Regions from separate parts of the Homo sapiens genome. Here regions 2 and 3 are each linked to region 1. Evidence: promoter capture Hi-C in 16 types of primary human blood cells and fetal thymus (Javierre and others, 2016). All regions are on one chromosome and are shown on one strand. The core of a region is centred on a gene start or on the middle of the fragment in contact, and the rest is flanking DNA. Distances in the headings are between cores, read along the strand shown.

Region 1 (4,367 bases), core at 793-3,292:
ACAGCCTGGGTTGGGACAAGGTCAGGCCACTGGCCTGCCCATAGTGTTTGTGAGCATATTCTTCCCCAGGAGGAAATATATGGCACAAGACCGCCACATCCCAGACCATCACCAGGGAGACAACTAATAACAGAGTTGTCATAAGTATACCAGGCACTTGTCCTGGTGTTTTACCTACATCAGGCTGGGTGCATTGACTCATGCCTGTAATCCCAGCACTTTGGGAGGCCGAGGTGGGAGGATCACCAGAGGTCAGGAGTTCAAGACCAACCTGGCCAACATGGTGAAATCCCATCTCTACTAAAAATACAAAAACTAGCCAGGTGTGGTGGTGGGCACCTGTAATCCCAGCTACTAGGGAGGCTGAGGCAGGAGAATCATTTGAATCCGGGAGGTGGAGGTTGCAGTGAGCCGAGATCACACCACTGTACTCCAGCCTGGGTGACAGAGCGAGAGTCTGTCTCCAAAAAATAAAAATAAAAAAAATAAAATGAATAAAAAATAAAATATCTACATCAGCCACTCTACCCTTACAATCCCCCATATTCGAGGAGCTACTAAGATTCTAACTTTGCAGAATAGGAAATGGAGGCTCAGTGAGCCTAAGTCAGTTGCCAAGGGTCCTATCGGGGCTGAGGTGCAGACTCTTTTGGAGCCTAAATGTGCACATGTAGTCACCACTCACGAAGCTGTATCAAACATCCTGCAGCACAGGAGGAAACACAGCAAGGACCATCATCTGCAGGAAGAGAGGCTCTCTTCATCCTAGGTCATCCCAGAGGGGCCAGGCAGTTTAGCGTGAAAACGGGAGGTATGAAGTCAGGAGAAAATATCAGGAAGTGGGGGCTCTGCATTTCCTCTTTCTCTTACTTGCTCCATCCCAGAGGTCGGGAGGAGCAGCTCGGAGTGCACAGGGGAAGGCCCAGGGAGGGTCCTGGCCCCTCCTCACAAGAACTGACACAGCCACCGGTCTGTCCAGCAGGCTGGCTATCAGCATTCACTGGGATCCCTGGATTATTCTAGGTTCAGTTAGAACTGCTAACACCCTATGTGATATATTTCGCAACATTAGGAGAATTGAATGGGTTTGTAAAATGGGTTCAAGTTACTCACGCCTTTCTACACAGTCATGATTTATGACGTCAGAGATGAACTGGAATATAGGCTCCTAGGAAATATTCTCCCACAGGAAAGTACAGGCTTGTGTGAGAAGCCACCACGGCAGACAATCCTGAGTAGCGGGCAGAAACCGGCTGTAAATGTGAGGGAGCGGGGAAGTAATTTGGAAAGCTCTCAGGGTAATGCAGAGGCAACCTGCGGCCCCGCATCGAGACAGCTCCAGGCCTGAGAACCATCAAGTCCTCTTTTCCATCCCCAAGGTCACTCTCCCAGGGCTGACTGAGGTGGCCTCCCAGCTGGCTTCACACAGCCCTGTCACACCTTCCATCTGTGCCCGGGGCGCTTCCTGAGACTCCCAGTTCCTCAGTGTGAATCCCAGATGGTTCCCATCGCCATCTGGATAAAGGCTCCACTCCCCAGCTGGCCTTAAAGACCCTCACAATCCGGCCCGACCACCCAGCACCCTCCCTCTCCTTCCCTCTACGACCTTGCGTCTCTGAATACACTTGTTCCTCTGCCTTCCCAACTCCTATGCATACTTTTGAGGCCATTCTCGGGTAGCCCCTCTCCTCTCCGAGGCCTGTCCTTATGACGCCTGCCCGCTGTGGCACTCCGGTTACCCGGAGGAGAGTTGCTACTCTCGAGTTCACCGAGGCGGAAAGCCCCTCTGACTCCAAAGCAGGGCTCAGCGCGACGTCCCAGAGGCCGCTTCTAGTGGCAGGTGCCCCTCCTCACAGGGCCCTCGCAGCCCCGCCGGCCCCCGCCCGGCTCCTTCTCAGCATGATACAACCGCGTCGGCCCTGGACAGCGCATGCGCGGGCGCCGGCGGCTGTTTCCCAGCGACCCCGAGGCTGGCGGGAGCGCGCACAGGGGAAGGGGGGCGTGTGCAGGGAAGGGGGCGCGAGACGCGCATGCGCAGCGGCAGGCGGCGGCGCGAGCCGAGCTGGGAGATGGCGGCGGCAGCGGCGGCGCCGAGAGTGTGAGCACCGCCCGGGAGCCGCCGGCCCGGGCGCAGCGCGACCCCGACCCCGCCCGCCCGCCTGCCCGCCATGGGCAACGAGGTCAGCCTGGAGGGCGGCGCTGGCGACGGGCCGCTGCCGCCCGGCGGCGCCGGCCCCGGCCCGGGCCCCGGCCCCGGCCCCGGCGCAGGAAAGCCGCCTTCAGCACCGGCCGGTGGCGGACAGCTCCCCGCGGCGGGAGCAGCGCGGTCGACCGCGGTACCACCGGTCCCTGGCCCCGGCCCCGGCCCCGGTCCCGGCCCTGGCCCGGGCAGGTAAGCGCGTGTCTCGGCGCCCGGGGGGCGGTGAGCTGCAGCCTGAGGCCGGGACCCGGGCCCAGGATCCCGCGATCTAGTGTGGACAGCGAGGTTCGACGTCCGGCCGCACTCTGAACCCTGCCGGATTGGCGTGAACTGGGTGGTCGCGGGAAGCGGCCCTTCCTTTCCAGCTGCCCCGCCTTGGCGTGGCAGGATGACGAGCGCAGGGTCAGTCGGGGCCTGCAGACCGTGACTCCGTCACGAACCCCAAATTCGCTTCTCCCCAACGCTCGGGCCTGACTGCTCAGGAGGGGCTTATGTAACCTTAACCTGGTCCCTCCGCACAGGAGAGCAATGGGATGGAAAACGTCCTCCCTGTCTGCTGGTGTCTGCATGTGTCCATTGTGCTGGGCCGAGAAAACAGCACAATGGGAGTGGCTGTCAGGGAAGATAAGTGTCACTGCGAGGAACAGAGAGATGAAAATAGTTGAACCATGAACTTGGTCTTGGGCTTTCCTTGGGCATTTAGTGGCTGTAATCACCTTTGGGGGAAAGGAAAATTGCCCACTGGACACCAAGAGGTGCTTATTTAGGCCCAACAATACTAATAGGATCATGTGCTTTCACCAAGGTTTAGGGAAACATTTTGGGGTGAAGCAAAAATGCTATTGAGTCATCCAGCACCAGATATGTTCTCGTTACCTTATGATTTAGATCAAACCAGTGGAAAAGCTGAAACCCACACAGAATGCTTTAAACAGAACATATCTGATTAAATACTGTGAAACCAGTTTGTTTTAAATGTATGCCAACCCAGGTCCTGCAAAAACAGTCAAGTGGCAATGAAGGCTGTAAGGGAATGCCAATATATAATAAGTCAGTAGACTGAAAACTCAGGAAAACTACTAAGAGATGACACGATAAAATGGAAGGCATTATCTTTGCACCAAATAGGCTTGGGGAGTAGCAAAACCCCCAGGGGGTGGGAGGGAGGTGCTTCCAGCTCCATGTGGGTCTGCTGATATATGTTGCCCTGGCTTTTCTGTGTGGAAGCACATAAACTGAGGACGCATAATTTTTTATTCTTTGGCTGCCCGACTGTGCCTCTTGTGTGTTTATTTCCTCAGAAGTCATTTCTTAGACAACTAACAGTAATGAAAGGCTGTTAGTAGCTTGAAACCTGCGGCAGACAGGTCAGCCTGTGAGCATCCTTTTTAGAGGTGGGATTTGTCCATTTTATACTAGCTATAATAGTAATGCAGTTGGATAGCACACAGCTCTTAGCACTGCAAACACTGTCCATTTTGCTGCATGTTGAGTTGCTGTTTGGGTTTTAGCTTGAGGGAGGCTCACCCAGGCTTTAGTGTTCTCCTTCCAAGGGAAAGCTTCTGTAGCTGAATGGAAAAACACCTTGTTATTGAGAGTTCCCTGTATGGGGAATTTGTCATTTCTCTTCTGATAACCAAACAGGCTGCTCTGCTTGTAGTTTATCAGATGTTGCAGAGCCAATCATATGAAATTCTGGAAAGACCTGGGCAGCTCAGAGGGACCGGAAGGAGGCTGATGTCTATTGCTCATATGCCTTTTTAGTGTTTCATTTGTACTTCATCTGTACATTCTGCTGCAGGCAGACCCATGAACTGCTGTGGGTGAGGCGAACCACGGACTCCTGATGGATTTAGTAGTCACACAATCTCTTACCTGGCTGTGGGCAAGGCTCATACCTGAGCCTGTGGTGCTGAGGTCCTGTGACTATCAGACTCAGGAGGTGAGCTGGCTATTTGTCCCCAAAGCTCAGAACCAGAGACCATTAGGAGGTGGGATTTACTCCTCCAGCTGATATTCATTTTATCATAGCACCTCAGCTGAGCAGCAGCTCCATGGCTTATCTCTCCTTTAGTATTGCAATGGCTTCTACTTCCTCTCACTAGAGCATCTCAGATACCTGATGCCAAATTTAGCATGTTCTAAGATGCTGCTGAACAGATTGGCC
Region 2 (4,477 bases), core at 1,225-3,724, 66 kb after region 1:
CCTCCCAAGCTGGACTGGTTTGGGACAGGGCTTGGGCATTTATGGTGTGTGGCACTCATAGGTGTAGCCTTTCTTCCTGTGACTTCTCGGCTTTCACATACGTAGACTCATCATGGCATGGGGCATTGTTGAGTGCTCCTCCTCATGGGAACTTCTATAACCCTGTGGGGTCATTCTCTTTTTTCTCCTTTCCCTGACTTCTCTGGTTCTGACATCTCCTCTACTCCTATGAACTTTGGTCCTCCCCACAAAGCTTTCTGGGTGATTTCTAGCCTGAGAATTGTCTGTGAACAAGACCTGTAACTCTCCCAGATAAAAATATCTACACTTATCTGAATTGAACTGAAGCTGTGACCCATCTCTTAATGTCTCTTACCCCCTACCCCCACCTCAACACAACCAAACCAAACCCAAACTTGTGATTTTGTGATTTCGCTTCCCATTTCTTACCCACTAATTGACTTCTCTCCCTGGATTCCCCATCTCAATTAAAAGGAACACTCCTCCCTGGAGCCAAAGCCAGAATACCTGCTGCTGTACCTTCCCTTCCTCTTGCCACACAGACTATCTCCTGGGCCAGTGCCTTATTCTCACTGGTTTCCTACCTCATCATCTTCTTCTCCTTGAAGAGACCCTAAACATTCCCCTATGTGAAAACCTTACAGGCTGTGCTCATTTTAGCTTTTAGCTTCCCAATTAGCTCAGGTAGTTCAACACACACTATCACACGATTGCTGGGAGCTGTTCTAGGTGCTGGGAGCACCAATGACTTACGTCTTCCAAGCTTATCCTGCGTAGCTACTCAGACTGAGCATGCTCTGCTGTGCCTCTGGGTCTTCGTGCATGCTGTTGCCTCTGCCTAGCATGCCCTGTCACCTTGGCATGAACAGCTCATCTTTTAAGACCCAGTTTAAATGTCTTCTCATCCTCAAAGACTTCTGCCTCTGTCCATCACTGGACCATGCAGCAGTGTGTCTTGCAGGGATTTGTTTGCACATCTGTCTCTACTCTAGACCAGAGGCTCTTGGAGGACTGGACTCCTATATGAATCATTTTTTAAAAAAATATTTTAATTAAATATTAAATGACTTTATAAAGAATATAAGAATACCTATACAACATGTATAAGATGTGAAGAATAAAATATGAACACCTGTGGACCCACCTTCCATTGAAGAGATATCATTCCTTTATACCATCAATACCTATTATAGGGCCTGGAACTAATCCAGGGGTCAGTAAATGTGAATTCCTGAATGAATGAATGAATAAATATCTATTGTTGGAGTCATTTTCTCTCTGAGTCTCCCAGCGTTGCTAGTTAAGTCCCAGGTGAATGGTGTCATGGCCCTAGCCCAGCCCCACTCTGTGAGCTCATTCTACTGTTCACACATTGTTCTGGTTGTTGTGCATGTGCTTACTGAGTGTCCATTCAATGCCAAGCGTGGCGCTGGGTCCTAAGGATATAGTGGGGAGCAAAATGGTGAAACCTCTTCCCAGGGAGCTTCCACGTAAGCAGCTCTTCAGAAAAAATAATCCAAAGAACCCAAACTGCAATGCTTTCTACCCCCTCTACAGCTACCCTAGAAAGGCAGTGTGGGATGTGGTTAAGGACATGGACTGGTGGCCTAGATATTGGAATCCCAGCTCCACCATTTGCAAGTCATGATGGCTTTGTATGTTACTTAACTTTTATGTGTGGCAGTTTTCTCATCTGTAAAATGGGCAAAATAGATCCTATCCAGTGAATTTGCTGTGAGGCTTAAAGCAGTTACTATGTGACAGGTGGCTCATGGTGAGGGCTCGGTCAGCATTACCACAATTATTGTCAGCAGAGCCTTCTATGGTACGGCTGGGGGTGTAGCCAACTGCTATAGGGAGGAACTTTAGGTATTGTTCCTGAAGTTCTCTCCTGCATGAAGTCAGACCCAGAGAAGGGCCGAGTGTCATGCCAGGCACTTGCCGTGTTTCCTCAGCTTTAAAACTTTGGGGCCACATTTTACTGCTCTGAGTCATTTAGTGCTTACAGTCACCCCATTCAGGAAATAAATATTGAGCATCCAGTTTGTGCCAGGCACTGTGGTAGGCCCTGGGACACAGCTGTGAGGAAAGCACACGGAGACTGTGCCCACACAGAACTGGCAGTTTAATGCAGGGATCCCAAAGGATATACAAAAGCAATAAATTTGTTATATGATGGGTCAGAAGGTGCTCAGTGCCACAGAGAACAAAGAGGCAGGGGAGACAAGCACAGTTTTAAATAGATTCAGGGTAAGTGTCCCTGAAAGGATGCCACCAGAGCAAAAACTTGAGAGGGAGCAAGTGTCTGCAGAAAGAACAGCAAATCCGAGGCGGGCGGATCACAAGGTCAGGAGTTCAAGACCAACCTGGCCAATATGGTGAAACCTCGTGTCTACTAAAAATACAAAAATCAGCTGGGCATGGTGGCACATGCCTGTAGTCCCAGCTACTTGGGAGGCTGAGACAGAAGAATTGCTTGAACCCGGGAGGCGGAGGTTGCCGTGAGCTGAGATCGCAGCACTGTACTCCAGCCTGGGCGACAGAGTGAGACTCCGTCTCAAAAACAAAACAAAACTAAAGAAAAAAAAAAGAAAAAAAAAACAAAGAACAGCAAATCCAATGGCCAAATGCACATGTCAGGAGTGGGCCTGGCATAAGGGAAGTGGAATCAGGGAGAGGATAATCAGAGATGAGGCCAGAGGGAAAGGGGCAAAATCTCATGGGGCCTTATGGGCCATTGTAAGACTTTTGGCTTTTCCTTTGGGAGGGAAAGGAAGCCAGTGCAAGGCTTAAGCAAAGCAGAGAAGTGGCCTGACTTGTGTATTTAAAGCCTTATTCTGGGGCTGGGCTTGGTGGCTCATGCCTGTAATCCCAGCATTTTGGGAGGCTGAGGTGGGCGGATCACTTGAGGTCAGGAGTTCAAAGCCTGGCCAACATGGCGAAACTCCGACTCTACTAAAAATACAAAAAATTAGCGAAGCATGCTGGTGTGCGCCTGTAGTCCCAGCTACATTGCAGTGAGCCGAGATTGCATCACTGCGCTCCAGCCTGGGCAACAGAAGGAGACTCACACACACACACACAAAAAGACTTATCCTGGCAACTGAGAATGGCTCAAACCAGGTGGGGTGAGGAGGAGGGAGTAGGTAGTAGTGGCCAGCTTCAGAAACCAACAAGATATACTGCTGGATTGACTTAGGATGAGACAGGAAGGGAGGCAGAGACGGCACCAAGGGGGAGACTAGGAGGCCCACATTTAGGGGGAAGATCAGGGGCTCAGCTTGGGTGTATCAAGGTGGAGATGCCTACAGGGCATCTCTGTGAAGATGTGGAGTTGGCAGTTAGACAGGTGAAGAGTTCAGAGCAGAGTTCTGGGCCAGAGATAGACATTTGGTGGGTATCAGTGGAAAGTGGATTTAAAGCCCTGAGACTGGGTAAGTCTTGAGACTTAGGGATTGTGAGTACTCACAGAAGCACGTTTGTGTAAAGACTGAGCCCTGGGTCTCTCCAGTGTAAGGAGTGGTGTTCTGGGGTTGGCAGATGAGGAAGAATCTGCAGAAGAGATTAGAAAGGTGTGGCCAGGCAGGAGGAGGAAATTCAGGAGAAGGTGGTATTCCCGAAGGCAAATAGTGAACTTATTTCAGGAAGAAGGGAGTGATCACCCAGGATCAAGTGCTGCTGATGGTCAAATGAGATGAGGAACTGAGATGTGACTGTCGGATTTGATGATGTGGAGGTCCCTACTGACTGTGACCTGAGTAATGTCTGTGGAGTGATGGGCAAAAGCCAGGTTGGAGGGGTAGGTTGAGAGGGAGAGAGGAGAGGAGTGGGAGGTAGTGAGTGGAGGCAGTTCTTTTATTATTTATTTTAGAGACAGAGTCTTGCTCTGTCACTCAGGCTGGAGCACAGCAGCGTCGTCCTAGCTTACCGTAACCTTGATCTCCTGGGCTCAAGAGATCCTCCTGCCTCAGTCTCCCAAGTTGGGATTATGACTTGGCAACCTGGCAAGTCACCTTGCCAGGCAAGTGGAGATAATTATTTTAAGGAGTTTTGCTGTAAAGAAGAGGAGAGAAATGGGGCAGTAGCTGAAGGAGTAGTGGAGCAAAGTACTGCTGCTTCTACTTTTTTGTTGTTTAGGATGGGAGAAGCTTGTTTGTATGATAATTGAAATGATCCAATAGAGAGGGGGAAATGGATGATGAAGGATAGGGGAGAATTTGTGAAGGTGAGAAGTGGGCCTTGGGATTGGGAGGCAGGTGAACACTGGGGGACAGGAGTAGGGAGGCTGAGGTTGTGCAGGTTTCTTCTGGTGGGTCCCACTTTTTTTGTGAGATGGTCAGCAGGTCATCAGTGGCAGTTAAGAGACAAAAGGAGGTGTTTGGAAGCTTGAAGATCAAGGAGAGGATATAAGGAAGCATCTAGGAAGATGGGAGAATACAAAGACCGTGGACATATA
Region 3 (4,428 bases), core at 59-2,558, 82 kb after region 1:
TTTGTTGAATGTCAAAGTACATTGCAGTGGGCCAGGCATGGTGGCTCACACCTGTAATACCAGCACTTTGAGAGGCGAAGGTGGGAGGATTGCTTGAGCCCAGGGATTCAGGAGCAGCCTGAGTAACATGGCAAAACCCTGTCTCTACCAAAAAAAATACAAAAATTAGCTGGGTGTGGTGGCGCCATGCCTGTAGTCCCATCTACTCGGGAGGCTGAGGTGGGAGGATCACTTGAGTCTGGGAGGTGGAGGTTGCAGAGAGCCATGATCATGGCACTGCACTTCAGAACCAGACCCTGTCCCCCTCCAAAAAAAAAAAAAAAGTACATCGCTGATATCAGTATACTTCCCACTAAGCACTTCAAGCGTATCATTAACTAGAGTTCAGTATTTATTTAAGGTTTCTCTTTTTTAGCTAAAATTTACATATAATGCAATGTACAGCAATTAATTATTCCAGTCGGTGAGCTTTGAGAAGTGGTCTGCAGCTCAGCCCCATGTGGGTTGCAGGTCATCTGGAGTGACCATGGAAGTCATTTAGCAGGAGTTTAAGAGGCGAGGGCCAAGGACTTGCAGGCCAGGATAAAGGGGCCTGGAGGGAGGGCAGCAGAAGCCAGGAGGGGAAGCTGGGCATGAACCAAAGGGTCCTGGGGATTTTAAGGAGAAGTTGAGGCTAGTCCAAGGGTCCAGCCTCTCCTGGAGAGGGTTACTGGTGACTAAGAGGAGTGTGTATGGGGAGGGTGCAGGGGAGTTGGCCAGTCATGGATGGGGTGTGTTACAGGGTACACCAGATCATCCTGGGTCGGGAGGGGGGCTGTCCAGAGCAGTGTGGGAGGAGTTAAGAGATATTGAGGGCAGAGAGACAGATGTGTCCAGGGATCAGCAAGGGGACGGATCCTCTCCCTTTCGTGGAGATCCAAGCCAGTGAGGTCTTCTAGCCCCAGGTGCGATTAGGTTCAGCCTCCACTCCCCAGATCCTGACCTCAGATGTTGGGCAGGTTCCCAAGACCTTCCTCAGGGCTCTGATAGATTGGCACAGGCCTCCCCTGGCTGGTCCAGCTCTGGATCAGTGTGACCCTGCCCACTGGGACCCTGTGGTACCTGCTTCCTAAGCCTGAGGTCAGCTAGCTGACAGTAAGGTGCTAGATGGGGCAGGCAACATGTCTATTGCTGTACCAGGGTGAGTATCCAGGCTAGGCCTGACTCCCTCCCTCTCAGCTGCCACCTTAGCTGCCCTTCTGCACATCGGCCTGTCCTTGTTGTCCAGGGGGCATGGGAAGGTATGTTCCTCCTGATGAGACCTGGCCAGTGACTCATAGCCCAGAAAGGCATATAGTCACACTGGCCAGTGGGGCCCTCCCAGGAACCTCTAGATTTGGCACCTGCAGGGAGGGCTCCTTTATGAGCTGTTTCTGTGATGTTTCAACTTGTACCAAAATGGAAAGCATAAATGCGGCATCAGGCGTGATGTCAGTGCTGAGTGATCTGAAACACTGAATGCCTGCTCTCCCTGGTAGGGCTGGGGCTCTCCACAGGAAGAAGGCTGAGTGACGTCTGCAACCTTCCTTTTCCTTGCTGCTGGGGGGGTGAGAGGAGGCGAGTGGGAAGAGAACATGTGACTTCGGGGGGCTCTCAGAGCTTCCTGACAGCCATGGAGGTGACCGTGAGGTAGACTCCACCCTGTGAGCATCCTTTGGGGCCAGATATGGCAAGCAAGGCTGAGTCCCACCCTTGAGGGCTGAGACACTCTGTGCAGCCAGTGTTCCTGCAGGGAAGATGTAGAAGCTCTTCCCAGAACTGCCCTCCTTGCTCCAGAGCCCAGTGGAGGAATTACCAGGGAGTGACCATTGCAGACAGATCACAGCTGCTCATTCAACTTAGAGTTCATACAGCCTCCAGCTTGGGCCCCAAGCCTCTGGATCCTTGGCCAGTGCCACCTTAGCTGCCCTTCTGCACACTGAATAGTTTGAGTAAGGAAGCAGCTAAAAAAGACTCTTCTCAGGGAGAAAGTCCTCTCAGAGCTACAGAGCCCACAGGGTCCTATGTTTCCAAGTCCCTAGCAGACAGGTGGCAGTGGCTCCCTGCAAAGCCTGTAGGAAGGCTTCCTGCAGCTTCTGCTTCCCCCACCTCTTAAACCACCTCTTGACCTTGTACTGCACTGAGCCTTCCCATCCTTACTGCCACTTAGGCCCCCACTGGGTCGGGGTGCACGGGCTTCCATGGAGGTCCCTACCAGTCCTTGGAGATGGCAAGATGGGCTTCCTTGCTAGCAAGAAGAGTCAGCTCATTCAAAGCTAATGTCTGACAGAGCTGTCCACCTTAGGGTAGCCCCAGGAAGGCTCCTGAGACACGAGGCTCGTGGCTGGTAGCCTGCACATCTCCTGCCCATGTGCCAGATCAGGATCTTGGAGGTATTAGACAGCAGAACCCTAGCTGAGGCTTCTTGTCACACTGGTAAAAGGATAGTCCCTCTGATTCTGATGGAGAGCCAGCTTGGAGAGGGCCTAGGAGCCACAGGGAGCCTTCTGGGTTCAACCTCTTGATGAGGAGGCATCACTGTGTGCAGCTAAGGAAGGCTCTAACTGTACTGGCACTCAGGCCAGTGGAGTCTGCCACAGAACTATTCATGTATACCCAGGCTGGGTGGGCGGGTGGGTTGGGGTGCACAGCCATCATCTCTCTCCCTACCCCGTGGACAGCCTCCATCCCCCTGAGTGTGGGGATAGGGGCCTTGCAGTATGGAGGAAGAGACTGAGGTTGGGCTCCTCCCAGGAAACTGCTGGGGATCTGTCGGGGAGGCAGAGAGGGGGATGTATTGCTGGCCTCAGAGAGCTCCCTCAGCCAGTGTCCTCCTTAGGAGGCCTTGCATGCTGGGCCTGAGCCTGGGAGGGGCTGTGGGGAGGGTGCGGTCAAGGTTCCTTACCGTCTGGAAGAGGCTGGATAGAAATAGCTGCACCCATCTGGGCGATGAGTCACTGAGGGGCGTTTCAGCCTTTTCTTGGAGAAGTTCTATTTTAGGTGAGATGCCTGTGCCACAGCCTGGATGACAGGGGCTGGGGAAAGGAAAGTTCTGGCGGTGAGTGCAGGCGGTTTGGCACGTGCCTTTGTTCAGCCTGATTCAGAACCCCAGGGACAGTCACCCCAAAGTTGCAGGATAAGAAGCCTTACCTCCTAAATTCCCTTTCCCAGGAAGAAGTCTCACCTCAGGGCATGCTGCAGTGCCCAGGTGAATGAGAGAGATGGGACGTTGGGTGTGGGCTGGGCACCCACGGGAAGAACTGAATTTGTGGCTGCCACCCTGGGCCAGAGGCTGAGCTTCCCCTCTGAGGAGTAATCCCCTTCCAGGGTCCCTCTCTGGATGAGTAGAAATGGCCTGCTCTGGGGAACTCTCACTTTGATGGGAATAAGCCCCTCCCTCCCAAGAATGACCTTTCTAAAGAGGTCTTTAGACTGGGTTCAGGGACTGAAATTGTTTTCTCTCTGGCTTTCTCTACCCAAACATAGACAAAGCTGCCTTGCTTCTTTCTTTCTTTTTCTTTTTTTTTTTTTTTTTGAGACAGAGTCTCGCTCTGTTGCCCAGGCTGGAGTGCAGTGGCATGATCTCGGCTCACTACAACCTCTGCCTCCCAGGTTCAAGCGATTCTCCTGTCTCAGCCTCCCAAGTAGCTGGGACTACAGGCATGTGCCACCACACCCGGCTAATTTTTTCTATTTTTAGTAGAGACGGGGTTTCACCATGTTAGCCAGGATGGTCTCGATCTCCTGACCTCATGATCCGCCCGCCTCTGCCTCTCAAAGTGCTGGGATTACAGGCGTGAGCCACGGTGCACGGCCTGCCTTGCTTCTTAAAAAGCATTTGGGTGGGTTAATTGTTCCCAGCTAGTGGGATGGCTTCTCACCTCACTGCCTCGGCATCACTGTTCTTAGAGTTTCTAGAACTGGGATTGGCCTTTGGGGGGCTCTGCCAGGGTTTGCAGTGCTGACTTCTAGAGCCTGACTTGGCCTTTGGAAGAGGCAGGACTACAGAAGGCACCAGGCTCCAGGCTGTCCAGGCTGTGGTTTAGGAGCTACGCAGAGCTGTCAGGGCTGATCTTGCCAGCAGCAACACTTCCTAGCCAGGGAACCATTGAGAACACATTGCTAAAACATCTCAGATCTTGGTTTTCTCTCCTGTGAGGACAAAATGAGAGAATGCCTGTGAACATGCCCTATGTGGTGCTTGGCACAAGGGGGTGCTTGCCAAAGTGCAGTGTTCTCCCTCTTCTTGGCTGCTGCCCTTGGGTTGCTGGGATAAGGCACCTGAGCCCAGGTCCCCCAACTGGCAAGTCAACCTGTAGCAGTAGCCCTGGGGCCTCAAGGCAGAGAGCAGGGCTGGAGCCACGTGTGGGTAAATAAAAGGGGCCTTCTGCCCCAGAGATGAGACGGCAC

Evidence for each region. The method cuts DNA at HindIII sites, captures the fragments that hold promoters and counts their contacts. A CHiCAGO score of 5 or more calls a contact.
Region 2: a fragment that was not itself captured here is called in contact with the fragment with the promoter of BSN in region 1 in 1 of 17 cell types (endothelial precursors); the score reaches 5.9 in endothelial precursors.
Region 3: a contact is called between a fragment that was not itself captured here and the fragment with the promoter of BSN in region 1, in 3 of 17 cell types (endothelial precursors, erythroblasts and M2 macrophages). The highest score is 5.8, in endothelial precursors.

What each region holds. Positions count from the first base shown.
Region 1 is chr3:49,552,435-49,556,801 of GRCh38, forward strand. BSN (bassoon presynaptic cytomatrix protein) reads left to right here and starts at 2,043. Exons shown (of 12, transcript NM_003458.4): 1 at 2,043-2,392. The coding sequence starts at 2,169. It overlaps BSN-DT (BSN divergent transcript), which reads right to left and starts at 1,932. Exons shown (of 3, transcript NR_038866.1): 1 at 1,607-1,932; 2 at 1,114-1,253. RefSeq lists silencers at 1,851-2,150, 2,221-2,430. The HindIII fragment of the contact is 4,717 bases long and covers 1-3,757 here.
Region 2 is chr3:49,617,845-49,622,321 of GRCh38, forward strand. The region is part of intron 1 of BSN (bassoon presynaptic cytomatrix protein); the gene reads left to right. Among named protein-coding and RNA genes, the nearest start is that of APEH, 54 kb to the right of the region's middle. The HindIII fragment of the contact is 3,385 bases long and covers 783-4,167 here.
Region 3 is chr3:49,635,664-49,640,091 of GRCh38, forward strand. All of the region lies in intron 2 of BSN (bassoon presynaptic cytomatrix protein), which reads left to right. Among named protein-coding and RNA genes, the nearest start is that of APEH, 36 kb to the right of the region's middle. RefSeq lists enhancers at 2,527-3,028, 3,029-3,528. The HindIII fragment of the contact is 9,454 bases long and covers 1-4,428 here.